3 separate regions of the Homo sapiens genome follow, and all the other regions are linked to region 1. The links are contacts of gene promoters, found by promoter capture Hi-C in human tissues and cell types (Jung and others, 2019). All regions are on one chromosome and are shown on one strand. Each heading gives the region's core, a stretch centred on a gene start or on the middle of the fragment in contact. The rest is flanking DNA. Distances are from core to core; before and after follow the strand shown. Region 1 holds the start of EFCAB12 (EF-hand calcium binding domain 12). Region 2 has its middle 26 kb from the start of RPN1. Region 3 has its middle 8.7 kb from the start of LINC02014.

Region 1 (4,644 bases), core at 1,487-3,986:
TTTCTTAATGTGTGTGCCAATGGTGGATCTTTGCTACTGAATGTGTTTGAACATGTTTTGAGATTTTTTTAAAATAAATTATTATTTGACAACAATCCAAAAAAAATACGGCTTTTCCAATGATGAAATATAATCAGAAGATGAAAAATAGTTCTAAACTATCAATAATACAAAGCAAATTTCTATCAGCCTTGCTAAAGCTAGGGGCCCACTAAATATTTTTATCGGCTAGGCGTGGTGGTGCATGCCTGTAATCTCGGAAGGCTGAGGCAGGAGGATCATTTGAGCTCATGAGGGCCCAGGAGGTCAAGGCTTCAGTGAGCCATGATCATGCCACTGCACTCCAGTCTGGATGACAGAGAGAGACCCTGTCTCAAAAAATATATATTTAAAAAATAAAAATAAAAGCTGACCCCAAAGACAAATAAGATTCCTCTGGCATTGTGTATTGTTGACAGCTCCACACTAGCTCTTAGGAATTGTAGATTCCACCCCAGTATCCATTTGATAACCTAATGTGAATATGGGCCTGCTGCTCCATTTCAGCTCACTCACTCTTTTACCTTGGTCCCTTTGTGAAAACTCATTTCTCATCTTCCATTTGGAGTTTATACCATTTGGCCAGGCACAGTGGCTTACACCTGTAATCCTAGCACTTTGGGAGGCTGAGGCAGGAGGATTGCTTGAGCCCAGGAGTTCAAAACCAGACTGGGCAACATAATGAGACCCCGTCTCTACAAAAAATTTTAAAAATTAATTGGGCATGGTGACATACACTTGTGGTCCCAGCTACTCAGAAGGCTGAGGTGGGAGAATCCCTTGAGCCCAGGAGATTGAGGCTGCAGTGAGCTATGATCACACCACTGCACTTCAGCCTGGATGACACAGCAAGACCCTGTCTTAAAAAAAATAAGTCTTAATGCCATTTTTATTACAAGTATTGTTACAGTTCAAATACCAAAGCATTTACTATTAGAAAGAAACCAAGGGAAAAAACTAGTTACTATGTCTTAATTACCAACTACCATTTTAAGGTATAATTTGAAAATTAAATTGATTGAATAAATGAAAAATAAATCAGTTGTTCAGGAAACTGCCTTTGTTGTAGGGCAGTGTGAACCGAATCAGGCTGCAGTGTGATGCAGAGGTAGTTGGTTGTTTCCACTTTAGTGAGTGTCAGTTTTTAGAAGGATAGATTTTGACCAGAGAACAGGAAAACTGGCCACACCTCCCTCTCCCCAAGGCAAACCCACTTTATAGTTTACCATCACATTTTCATTTAACAAACATCCAAGTAGCATTCACAAAGTGTAAAGCCCTGTGGTGGGGAGGGGCACAAAGATAAACAAGTTCTGTACAGACCCTCACAGAGAGAAAGAAGGGCACCTAATAATGGAAGGGAACAAAAGCGGTAAGGAGTAGGGACAAGACACCCAAAGAGGGTGGAGAGGGGCCTCTGAAACCTTGGGCCCAGCTGGGCCTGGAGGGTGGGGCGAGCTCACCAAGCTCAGGGCATCAGGTGTGGCTTTGTGGTAGGGCTGGTGGTCACATACCTTCCCCCAGCATCTCCATGGGGAGTGTGGGCCCGTGTGAATGCAGGAGGCGAGCTCTGCACCAGGGGAGCTCAGGACACAGCCAGGTTGCTCAGGCTCTAGGCCTGGCTTTTCCTGTTTCTTGCAGGTGAGGTTGCCTGACCTCTGTACCTGTTAACTTGTCTTTTAAAAATGGGATAGTGGTGTCTACCTCACACAATGATGGTAATTATGAAGTTCAGACATGTAGTGCTAAAATGGTACCTGGCTTGCAAGAGTGCTGTGTGAATGTGGCCCATGGCAACAATCTGTTTGCAAGCGTCACAAAGATAGCTTGTCTCAGCAAAGGAATAAGGGCTTAGGTGTTTCTCTTTAACTTTTTAAAAATTGAGCTAAAAGCCACCATTTAACCATTTTAAAGTGTACAGTTCAGTGGTTTAGTACATTTACAGTGTGCAGCCATCATCACTAATTCCAGAAGTTTCCATTTCTTTTTTCCACTCCAAAAAGAATCTCTCCACCTGTTAGCAGTCACTTCAATTACTCACCCCATCCCCTAGCAACCATTCATCTACTTTCCGTGTCTGTGGGTTCGTCTATGCTGAACATTTCACATAAATGGAATCATACAGCACGTGGCCTTTTGTGTCTAGCTTCTTGCTTAGCATACTGTTTTGAAGGTTTATCCATATTGTAGCATGTACTTCATTCCTTCTTATGGCCATCCTATGGATATACCTCATTTTGCTTATCAGTTGATGCACATTTCAAGGGTTTATTATTATTCTCTGGTCCTCAGGTTCTGTAACTCCAAACCATGGCACCCTGCCATAAGCGGGGCAGAACATACCCAACACCTCTATCTGGCCACAGCTCACTTTGGTTCTTCCTAACCCTCTGGAGGAGGCAGGGCCTATTTTTCCTATGAGAAAACTGAGGCCTAGAGATATGGAGACCTGCGGAAGATCCCACATTTCACGGGAAAACCGGAGACTTTCTACACTGGATTCAGGGACTACTGGGCCGAACAAAGAAATCCCGCCTTTCACCAAGCCCAGAACTGGGCGGGGCGTGGATTTGCTCGCTGCCCCTCCCAGAATTGGACGAAAACGAGGTGGGGCCAGCAGGCGCTCGGCAGGGCGGGCTCGCTCTTAACACGTGACAGCGCTCAGCCAATTGGCGCGGGGCGTCCGTAGCCACGGCAACAGGTTGCTTCTGCAGTCTGAGCTGAGCGCCTTTCGCACGACTTGGAGTTACGGTTTATCTGATACCCCGGTACCCCTACGCAAGCAAGCCCACATCGACACACATTCACACACGCCCTTCAGCACCCCCTCCCAGCACCACGACCATGGACGACGACTATGAAGCGTACCACAGTCTGTTCTTGTCGCTGCTCGGTAAGCCCCGGGAAGAAGCGTCTGCAGGGAGCGCTCAGCGCCCTAAGGACGCGTGAAAGTGGGGTGAGGGCAAAAACTCAGCCACAGATATTGTGCCGACCCCCTCTGGGTGAAGGGTTGCCATGGAGTCGGGGGCAGGTCATGTACATTTCTGAGATTTCTATCTGAGCCTAGTTGGAGGAACCAGAGGCCCGACCCATGTGACGGGAGCCCTCCAGCTCGCCCTGTTTCTCTGCAGGACATTAATGTATTCAGTACTGGAGGAGAGGCATGGAGAAGACGTCAGTCTTCAAGGTTTTGGCAGTAATGTGCTGGGGACCAAGTTCTTGGCAAAGCAATGCAGCTTCACGGGTAAAGGACAGAGATAAATGGATAATTACAGAATAAGAAGGGGTAAATGCCGGGCCCAGGGATGACACCCAGGAGTAAAAGGTGTGCTGAGGGTATGGGATGGGGAGGAACAGTTCCAAGCTTTTGGAAAAGATCTTTACACTGGAGCTTAAAGGATAAAAAGGAGTTCTCCAAGCCAAAAGGGGAAGGAAAAGCATTTCGGGCAAGGAAACAGCATGACCCAAGAGGTCTGGTGTCTCTGGAAATGAGGTGAGAGAGGTCAGAAGGGACAAGATCATAAAAGATACTGCAAGCCAGGAGATGGAGAGGCCACTGGGAGTGGCAGGACTGGATTGGGAGCAGTCAGAAAAGACCTGAGACTGAGTTGGCAGACTCAGAATGTTGGTGTGGGGAGATGAGAGCTGGGGGCTATAAAGCTTGAAGACTGAAGGTCTTCTCCATGCCGCTTCTCCAGCACTGAACACATTAATGCCCAGTGGAGAAACAGGGAGAGCTGGAGAGGCTGGCCACCTTTCCCAGGCACACAGGTCAGGGCTCTGGTCAAATGCCCAAGCTAAAGATGCTGGGAGGTGAGGGAGAAGGCCCAGGCTAGAGGGAACTACGGGACTTGGGGGCTGGTTGGTCAGGAAACACAGAAGAGGCAAATAAAGATGGTTCTCAAGTTGGCAGCTGGGGGACCTGGTAGATGGAGATGTCTTCCACAGAGATAAGAGAACGTACTCAGAGGACCCAGTTAGTGGGGGAAGGGGCACAAAGACAAATCCAGTCTTGGTTGGTTGAGTTTAAGATCCTTGTCAGTAGCTGGGCACAGTATCTCACGCCTGTAATCCCAGCACTATGGGAAGCTGAGGCAGGAGGATTGCTTGAGCCCAGGAGTTTGAGAATAGCCTGGGCAACATAGTGAGATCCCATCTCTACAAAATTGTTTTTTAAAGTTAGCCAGGCCTGGTGGGGTGGCTCACGCCTGTAATCCCAGCACTTTAGGAGGCTGAGGTGGGTGGATCACGAGGTCAGGAGATCAAGACCATCCTGGCTAACACAATGAAACCCCGTCTCTACTAAAAATACAAAAAATTAGCCGGGCATGGTGGCAGGCGCCTGTAGTCACAGCTACTCAGGAGGCTGAGGCAGGAGAATGGCATGAACCAGGGAGGTGGAGCTTGCAGTGAGCCAAGATCATGCCATTGCACTCCAGCCTGGGTGACAGAGCAAGACACCATCTCAAAAAAAAAAAAAAAAAAAAGGTTAGCTAGGCTTAATGGCATGCACCTGTAGTCCCAGCTACTCAGGAGGCTGAGCTGGGAGGATCATTTGAGCCCAGGAGTTCAAGGCTGCAGTGAGCTATGATTGAGCCACTGTAC
Region 2 (4,644 bases), core at 905-3,404, 750 kb after region 1:
TGGCACATACCTGTAATCCCAGTTACTCAGGAGGCTGAGGCAGGAGAATCGCTTGAACTAGGGGGATGGAGGTTGCAGTGAGCTGAGATCGTGCTACTCCACTCCAGCCTGGGCGACAGAGCCAGACTCTGTCTCAAAAAACAAAACAAAACAAAACAAAAATTAACTGGGCATGGTGTTGCAGGCCTGTAATCCCAGCTAATTTGGAGGCTGAGGCAGGAAAATTGCTTGAACCCGGGAGGTGGAGGTTGCAGTGAGCCGAGATCCTGCCACTGTACTCCAACGTGGGTGGCAGAGCGAGACTCCGTCTCAAAAAAAAAAAAAAGAAACAAAGCTTTTGTCCCCATCTCCACCAGAAGTGAAGAAAAGAATGGCTTCCAGCTTGAGGAATGGGGAATGGGGATGATGGTACTACACTACTACTACTACTATTAAATACTACTGCTACTGCTACAACACTACACATTCATATCTATTCTTAGAAGGTATTAATCCCAGAAATTCAGGTTGAGGTTGGGAAAAGTAGGTTCCTTATCCTTGGGAATCTGTTTACTTACCTATAAAACCAGAGTGTAGTAAATAGGAATCCCTGTCCTGGCTGCCTAGCCAGGTTGTTAGGAGGAAAGAGAGATTTGGTGTCCTATACTAGCATTCAGAATGACTTGTGATGGGACACTGTTTGCAAGGCTGGGGAAAGCAGGCTGTGATACCTACAAGTGGGAGTGTACATTTTTACAACTCCATGAGGAGGCAAGCTGGCATATCTGTTAATGTAACATTAATCCTTTGTACCAATCCTTTGATTAAGCACTTCAGGGCCAAGGAAACTATCTTACATATGTATTCCCCCATGTGCACAGACAAACGTAGAAAGAGGTACAGTTGAGGGCTGTTTGAATGGCAAAAGCATGGAAGCAAACTAATTGTTCATAAATAGGGGACTGGCTTGATTTTTGAAAAATGACACATCAAGCCTGAGCAACATGGTGAAACGCTGTCTCTACAAAAAATACAAAAATGAGCTGGGCGTGGTGGCAGGCACCTGTAGTCCCAGCTACTCAGGAGGCTGAGGCAGGAGGATCACTTGAGCTGCAGAGGCAGAGGTTGCAGTGAGTGGAGATCGCACTACTGCACTCCAACCTGGGTGACAGAGTGACACCACATCTCAAAAAAAAAAAAAAGACACATTTGTTTAACAGGAATTCTATGCAGCCCCTCCTACAAAATAAAGTAGTACTGTTGTAGAATAAGCTCCAAGATTTATCACATATAATTATAATTATGACTGTGGCTGCAAATAACAATGTAGCCTTCTATAGTGCAAATAACAATGCAAATTACATTGCAAATAACAATGTAGCCTTCTATAGTGGCTTAAACAGACAAGGGTTAATCTGTCTCAAGCAATAAGTAGCAATAAGGGCAGGCACATCTGAGTCTTGTATGGGGCATTGGTGTGTTGTCAGGAATGCAGACTCTTTTTCTTTTTAAAATTTCAAAAGCCTTAAGAAGGTCACAGTGGCACATGCCTGTAGTCCCAGCTACTCAGAAGGCTGAGGCAGGAGGATCGCTTGAGCCCAGGAGTTCCAGGCTGTAATGAGCCATGATCATGCCTGTGAATAGCCACTGCACTCCAGCCTGGGCAACATAGCAAGACCTCATTTCTAAAACAACTTTTTTTAAAATTTAAAAACTTTTTGCCTCATTTCACCAGATCCCTGGCTTGGGGAGCCTTCCTTCCCCATGGTGGGACACCTGGCTTTGGATTTCACCTTCTTGCCCCTTCCAGGTGGTGGAGGTAATGGGTCAGCGGGGCGGGAGCTGGACTTGGCTAAGCTTCCAAGGCAGGAATTGGGCCGGGTGTTGGGCCAGGCTCTGAGATGTGGGGGTTTCTCCCGTGCCCCCCACTGCATGAGTTCCGTGGGCAGATGGTATACTCTGGGTCTCCGGTTGCAGTGGGGCTAGTGCCCCAAGGTGGCTTGAAGACCTCTCAGCCTGAGGGCGAGGCAGGAGCCTGGGTGGAGAGCAACTGTGAGGGGCCTCCCTGGAGCCTTGCACTGCCCCAGCTGGTGCCATGAAGCTAGAGAAGGAGAAGCTGGAGCAAAACCTCAACGAGTCCCAGGACATCAAAGCTCTGTAATTTGCCAAGCTCCTGAAGCAGAAGAGGATCACCCTGGGATATATCCAGGCCCGTGTGGGGCTCACCCTGGGGGCTCTTTTTTTAAATGTTTATTTATTTGTTTATTTATTTTTGAGACAGGGTCTCACTCTGTTGCCCAGGCTGGAGTGCAGTGGCGTGACCTTCGCTCACCACAACCTCTTGTTGTGCCCAGGGGTGTTAGAGAGAACGCCACACTTTGAGACGATTTAAGAGTCCTTTATTAAGCCGGCGGCCAAAGAGACGGCTAACGCTCAAAATTCTCTTGGCCCCGAGGAAGGGGGTTGATTAACTTTTATACCTAGGTTTAGGAAGGGGAGGGGAACTCAAATGCAATAATTCTACAGAAGTAAAAACATGCAAGAATAAAAAAAAAATGGTTACAAAGAGATAAACAATTTAAAAGACAAATGGTTACAAGAAGAGCAACGGTACCAGGTGCAAGGCTTTAAACCTTTATTATAATTAGATATAGGGGGTATGCCGGACAGGAACTCAAGGCTTTATGTTGTTATCTCTTTGAGAAAAATCCTGGGAACTTCATACATTGTTGGTGCTAGTACCTTATCAGTTAATTGGGCTACTTTGAAATGCTGAGGATCTGCTTACACAGGTTAACTCCTTGCGGAAGGGGGTTGGGTAAGGAGCCCTTAGTATCTTGTAAATTAAGGGGTCAATTGGAGTTTGTCTGGCTTTCCCAGCTAGAGAGAGTCTTATTTACATGAGAAGCAAGGCTAGGTGATTAAAGAGACAAGCAGGATAAAATTCAAAGTAACGAGTTAGAGTAAAAACAAGGTTAGGCGTTTCACTCTGCCTCCTGGGTTCAAGCGATTCTCGTGCCTCAGCCTCCCAAGTAGCTGGGATTACATGCATGTGCCACTATGCCCAGCTAATTTTTGTATTTTTAGTAGAGACGGGGTTTCTCCATGTTACAGGCCAGGCTGGTCTTGAACTTCTGACTTCCCACCTTGGCCTCCCAAAGTGCTAGGATTACAGAAGTGAGTCACCATGCCCAGCCTCTGGGGGGTTCTATTTGGGAAGGTGTTCAGCCAAATGACCATCAGCTGCTTTGAGGCTCTGCAGCTCAGTTTCAAGAACATGTGTAAGCTGCCTCCCTTGCTGCAGAAGTGGGTGGAGGAAGCAGCCAACAATGAAGAGCTTCAGGAGATATGCAAAGCAGAGACCCTCAGGCAGGCCGAAAGAACAAGAACCCGGGCCAGTCGCGGTGGCTCACACCTGTAATCCCAGCACTTTGGGAGGCCGAGGCGGGAGGATCACGAAGTCAGGAGATCGAGACCATCCTGGCTGACAAAGTGAAACCCTGTCTCTACTAAAAATACAAAAAAAAATTAGCCGGGTGTGGTCACGGGCACCTGTAGTCCCAGCTACTCAGGAGGCTGAGGCGGGAGAATTGCCTGAACCCGGAAGGCGGAGCTTGCAGTGAGCAGAGATCGCGCCACTGCACTCCAGCCTGGGCGACAGAGCGAGACTCCATCTCAAAAAAAAAAAAAAAAAAAAAAAGAAGAAGAACCGAGTGAGAGGCAAGCTGGAGAACTTGTTCCTGCAGTGCCTGAAACCCACACTACAGCAGATTAGCCACATTGCCCAGCAGATCAGCCACATCAGCCAGTGCGCCCACAAACCCACACTGCAGCAGATCTCCAGGTTGGGCTGGAGAGGATGTGGCCCCAGTGTGGTTCTGTAACTGGCGCCAGAAGGGTAAGTGATGAAGCAATGACTATGCACTACGAGAGGATTTTCAGGCTGCTGGGTCTCCCTTATCAGGGGGCCAGTGTTCTTTCCTCCGGCCCCAGGGCCCCATTTTGATACCCCAGGCTATGGGAGCCCCCACTTCACTATGCTGCGAGGGGAAGCCTTTACCCCGTCTCTGTTGCCACTTGGCCCTGCCATGAATTGAAACTGAGGTGCCTGCCCTTCTAGGAATGGGGGACAGAGGAAGGGAAGAAGCTAGGGGAGGAGAACCTGGAGTTTGTGCCAGGGCTTTTGGGCTTAAGTTCCTCATTCACTAAGGAAGGAATTGGGCACACAAAGGGTGGGGGCAGGGGATTTTGGGACAACTGGTTGGAGGGAAGGTGAAGTTCAATGATGCTTTTGCTTTTAATCCCTACATCATGTATCACTTTGTTCTTAAAGAAACCTGGGACACAGTAAAAAATAAATAAAATAAGGCCGGGCGTGGTGGCTCACGCCTGTAATCCCAGCACTGTGGGAGGCCGAAATGGGCAGATCACGAGGTCAAAAGATTGAGATCATTCTGGCCAATATGGTGAAATCCCATCTCTACTAAAAATACAAAAATTAGCTGGGCGTGGTGCCACGTGCCTGTAGTCCCAGCTACTCAGGAGGCTGCGACAGGAGAATCACTTGAACCCAGGAAGCAGAGGTTGAGTGAGCCAAGATTGTGCCACTGCACTCCAGCGCGGTGGCTCATGCCTGTAATCCCAGCACTTTGGGAGGCCAAGGTG
Region 3 (4,644 bases), core at 1,546-4,045, 670 kb before region 1:
TGACACACACTACCTGCTTCACAAGGACCTGGTGCCCAGTCCTCAAAGAATATTTGACAGGGCTGGACATGGTGGCTCACGCCTGTAATCCCAGCACTTTGGGAGGCCGAGGCGGGTGGATCTGAGGTCAAGAGTTCGAGACCAGCCTGGCCGATATGGTGAAACCCTATCTCTACTAAAAATACAAAAATTAGGCCAGGCGTGGTGGCTCATGCCTGTAATCCCAGCATTTTGGGAGGCTGAGGCGGGGGGATCACCTGAGGTCAGGAGTTTGAGACCAGCTTGGCCAACATGGTGAAACTCCATCTTTACTAAAAATACAAAAATTAGCGGGGTGTGGTAGTGGGCGCCTGTAATCCCAGCTACTCAGGAGGCTGAGGCAGGAGAATCTCTTGAACCCAGGAGGTGGAGGTTGTAGTGAGCCGAGATCACGCTATTGCACCACGGCCTTGGCAATGAGAGCGAATCTTTGTCTCAAAAAAAAGTACAAAAATTAGCCGGACATGGTGGCACACACCTGTAGTCACGGCTACTTGGGCTGCTGAGGCAGGAGAATTGCTTGAACCCAGGAGGCAGAGGTTGCAGTGAGCCAAGATCATGCCACTGACTCCAGCCTGGGTGACAGAGCTCAAAAAAAAATAAGATAAAGCATAGATACAGAAAACCACAAAGGAAAAACATAGCATATTGAATCATCACAAGGCAGCCACCCCTTCATAGCCACACCTGGCCCCTGGCCACCACTGACCTGTGCTCCATCGCCAGAATTCCGTTGTCTCAGGAATGTTCGATGAATGGAATCCTGTGTGGCCTGAGATGAGTGTCTTTCATGCCGCGTGACACCCTTGAGGCCCGTGCAAGCTGTTGGTATGTCAACAGTTAGCTGCTTCTCATTGCTGAGTGGCGATTGGTCCTGTCATGGTTTATTCAGCCATGTGGCGGATGGCTACTTGTCTTCTAAGCCACTTGTTTTCTGATTGCTGGACTTACTGTCTCACCCTCTCTTGGTACAGCCCTCGGAAGGCTCGGTCACACTCTCCGAGCACAGCCATCATCTCCCACGGTACCACAGGCCTGGTCACATGGGACGCTGCCCGCTACCTTGCAGAATGGGCCATCAAGAACCTGGCAGCCTTCACTAACAGGTGACCTCGGGGCACAGGGCAGCCGCCATCTACCTTGCAGAATGGGTCATTGAGAACCTGGCAGCCTTCACTAACAGGTGACCTCGGGGCACAGGGCAGGGCACCGAGGCAGGCTTACCCTGGTGCAGTCGAAGACACGGTCCCCTTTCCTCCCGCCAGGACTGTCCTAGAGCTTGGCAGTGGCGCCGGCCTTACAGGCCTGTCCATCTGCAAGATGTGCCACCCCCGGACATACATCTTCAGCGACTGTCACAGCCGGGTCCTCGAGCAGCTCCGAGGGAATGTCCTTCTCAATGGCCTCTCATTAGAGGCAGACATCACTGCCAACTTAGATAGCCCCAGGGTGACAGTGGCCCAGCTGGACTGGGATGTAGCGACGGTCCATCAGCTCTCTGCCTTCCAGCCAGATGTTGTCATTACAGCAGGTAATGCCCAGCCCCGGGCATCCTGTGCAGGCGGTGTCCTTGCAGCTCTACCCAGCTCTTGGCTCTGGGAAAAGGGAACAGTGGATGCTGTCGGGCATGGACATGATGGGGCTTCCAGAAGAGTTACTCCGGGCCTCCAGGGGGACATCAAAGGACAGGGGTGCCTCTTAAGGTGACCTTCAAGCCACAGCCCTCTTGTTGGAGACAGGCATACTCCCGTTACAGTCGTCACCACACGGCTCTGTTCCAGAGCCATGCCCTGTGTCCTTCAGAGACCACAGGAGGAAAACAACCACTTCTGGGATGAGGACAGGGCCCTTGGGAGAAGGTGGTGTTTGGCTGGGCCACCAAAAACCCCTCACCCCTGCCAGCACACTCAGTCCCCTCTCTGGTGGAACAGAGCTCTGCCTGTGGTCCTGGGTCCCAGCCCTGAAACCCACAGGTCCAGCGGTGGCCAGGGACAGAGGCCCACCCCTGCAAGCCAGCAGACCAATCGGCAGACACCTGAAACACGAAGTTCACGGTAGGGTCAGGCTTTCTGCCATTCAAAGCCCTCTAGATAGGCCCAGAACCAGAGCTGGTTTTTTAAGGAACACCAGTGAGTCTGGAGATTTTTTTCTTTTGCTTCGGTCTTTTGCAGCTTTCTCTACTAAGGGTTCTCCTTTTTCACCCAAGTAATTGCCCTTCCATCTAATGGCCCAAATGGTCAAATGGCATCTAATAGTCTCATATGAACGCTGCCTCTCTGGCCTCACCCTGCTGCTGAGGTCAGCATGAACTGGAACTTTCCACTTGTCCCTTTCAGTAACCTGAAGCTTTCACCGTAGACGTGCTGTATTGCCCAGAAGCCATCGTGTCCCTGGTCGGGGTCCTGCGGAGGCTGGCTGCCTGCTGGGAGCACCAGCGGGCTCCTGAGGTCTACATGGCCTTTACCGTCCGCAACCCAGAGACGTGCCAGGTGTTCACCACCGAGCTAGGTGAGCCCCCACGCCCACCCGGGCCTGCATGGTCCCCGAGCTGTCCCTGCAGGACTCCAGTGGAAGTGAAAGAACTGGGTGCCAGCAAAAAGCTAGGATGCCCCACACTCCCACACCATGCGGGGAACTCGGGCAGAGGCCGGTGAGCAGGGTGGGCTTGGGGCGTGGGGGGCTTGCGGCAGGAGGAGGGCAGCTCAGCACAGGGCGGGAGGGTCTGAGCCCAGCAGCCCTACTATGTGCCTCAGAGCAGGTTTCCCTAAGCCCTTGGGCCTCGGTTTCCTCATCTATAAAATGGAGGTGGTGGGAGGGGCAGTCGGGGTCAGGGCTGGACACAGCTGTGGCCTGCAGGATGCTGGAGCACAGGCTGTACAGGCGGATCCACCACGCCACTGTCCTGAGCACCCAGTTGATGGAAGACGAGCAGGGTGACTATAGAGAAGGGCAACTGGCCCCGTAGTGGGCCAGCCACTGTCCTGAGACCTGACATTGGTCAGCCCCCAGCACCTGTGAGGGTGTTCTGTCATTGTCCCATCTCACCGACAAAAACACTAGGACACACAGAGGCCAAGAGACCCCCGAGCTCCCGCAGACTGCAGCCCGGCCACCTGGCTCTAGTGCCTCCACACTACACCCAAGCCCCCCATTGCCACCAGACTCTGCCCCAGCTCCCCCTGAGCACAGCCCCTCCTGGCAGCCATGTGCAAAGATGCACCCGCAGCAGCCTCTGCCTGCACACAGAGACATGGACGACCCAGTGCCTGTCCACGTGGGGCAGCCCGTTAACTACAGAGCCAACAAACAAGCCAGCACGCGAAGACATACTGGGTTCCATGACAGAGTCCCGCACAACCTCGCACAGGAGGCTGGCCAGGCGTGGGGCTCAGGCCTGTCATCTCAGCACTTTAGGAGGCTAAGGCAGGAGGACTACTTGACCCCAGGTGTTCAAGACCAACCTGGGCCACATAGTGGGACCCCATCTTCACAAAACATACAGAAACTAGCCAGATGTGGTTGGACATGCCTGTAGTCCCAGCTACTCGGGAAGCTGAGGTGGGAGGATGGCTTGAGCCCACGAGGTGGAGGCTGCAGTGAGCCCTGATCTCACCACTGCACTCCAGCGTGGGCAACAAAGCAAGACCCTGTCTCAAAAAAGCAAAAAAGCAAAAAAAAAAAAAAAAAAGGAAGTCTTTCTTCAGATACTTACGTGAAAAAAAACCTGCAATATCTTTTAAGTGAAAAAAAAACAGTGCCAAGCAGTACATATAGTATAAGCCCCCACCAACCTTTTTTTTTTTTTTTTTTTTTTTTTTTGAGACAGAGTCTGGCTTTGTATTGCCCAGGCTGGAGTGCAGTGGTGCCATCTCGGCCCACTGCATCCTCCCACCTCCCAGGTTCAAGCTATCCTCCCATCTCAGCCTCCTGAGTAGCTGGGACTACAGGTGCGTGCTACCACGCCTGGCTAATTTTTGTATTTTTTGTAGATTCGAGGTTTCTCCATGTTGGCCAGGCTGATCTTGAACTCCTGACCTCAAGTGATCTGCTGCCTCAGCCTCCCAAAGTGTTAGGAATACGGGCGTGAGCTACTGCGCCCAGCCCCATTTTTGTTTAAAAACTAATAATAATCACCCACACGTGGTTATGAGTACCTATATTCCAACTACTCAGGAGGCTGAGGCGGGAGGATGGCTTAAGCCCAGGACTTTGTGGCCACCTTGAGCAACATAGCAAGACTTCATCTCAAAAAAAAATGTATCAAAATAATCATTTTCACATAGGTATACCTATAGGGGAAAACCTAGAACATGTATATAGCAGGTTTGTCCAACCTGTGGCCCAACACAAATCTGTAAACTTTCTTAAAACAATATGAGGTTTTTTTGTGATTTTTTTTTCTTTTAGCTCATCAGCTATTGCTAGCTTTAGTGTATTTTATGTGTGGCCCAAGGCGATTCTTCTTCTTCCAATGTAGCGCAGGTAGGCCAAAAGATTGGACATCCCTGATATGCACGTTAACAGGTGCCATCCTTGGATGGCAGGATTATAGAGATTGCTACACGTTCATGTCTGTACTACTTCATTTTTATAAATATGCATTTT

What was found. Contacts are between HindIII fragments. The study calls those that stand out against the background at their distance.
Region 2: a contact is called between a fragment that was not itself captured here and the fragment with the promoter of EFCAB12 in region 1, in 1 of the 25 tissues and cell types used here (spleen).
Region 3: a contact is called between a fragment that was not itself captured here and the fragment with the promoter of EFCAB12 in region 1, in 2 of the 25 tissues and cell types used here (H1 embryonic stem cells and spleen).

What each region holds. Positions count from the first base shown.
Region 1 is chr3:129,426,728-129,431,371 of GRCh38, reverse strand. EFCAB12 (EF-hand calcium binding domain 12) reads left to right here and starts at 2,736. Exons shown (of 9, transcript NM_207307.3): 1 at 2,736-2,932. The coding sequence starts at 2,884. MBD4 (methyl-CpG binding domain 4, DNA glycosylase) reads left to right here. Exons shown (of 8, transcript NM_001276270.2): 8 at 1-425. RefSeq lists a silencer at 2,550-2,599. The HindIII fragment of the contact is 10,320 bases long and covers 1-4,644 here.
Region 2 is chr3:128,674,105-128,678,748 of GRCh38, reverse strand. It overlaps the pseudogene POU5F1P6. Among named protein-coding and RNA genes, the nearest start is that of RPN1, 26 kb to the right of the region's middle. RefSeq lists an enhancer at 3,344-3,413. The HindIII fragment of the contact is 6,212 bases long and covers 1-4,644 here.
Region 3 is chr3:130,100,667-130,105,310 of GRCh38, reverse strand. It overlaps the pseudogene FAM86HP. Among named protein-coding and RNA genes, the nearest start is that of LINC02014, 8.7 kb to the right of the region's middle. The HindIII fragment of the contact is 7,534 bases long and covers 1-4,644 here.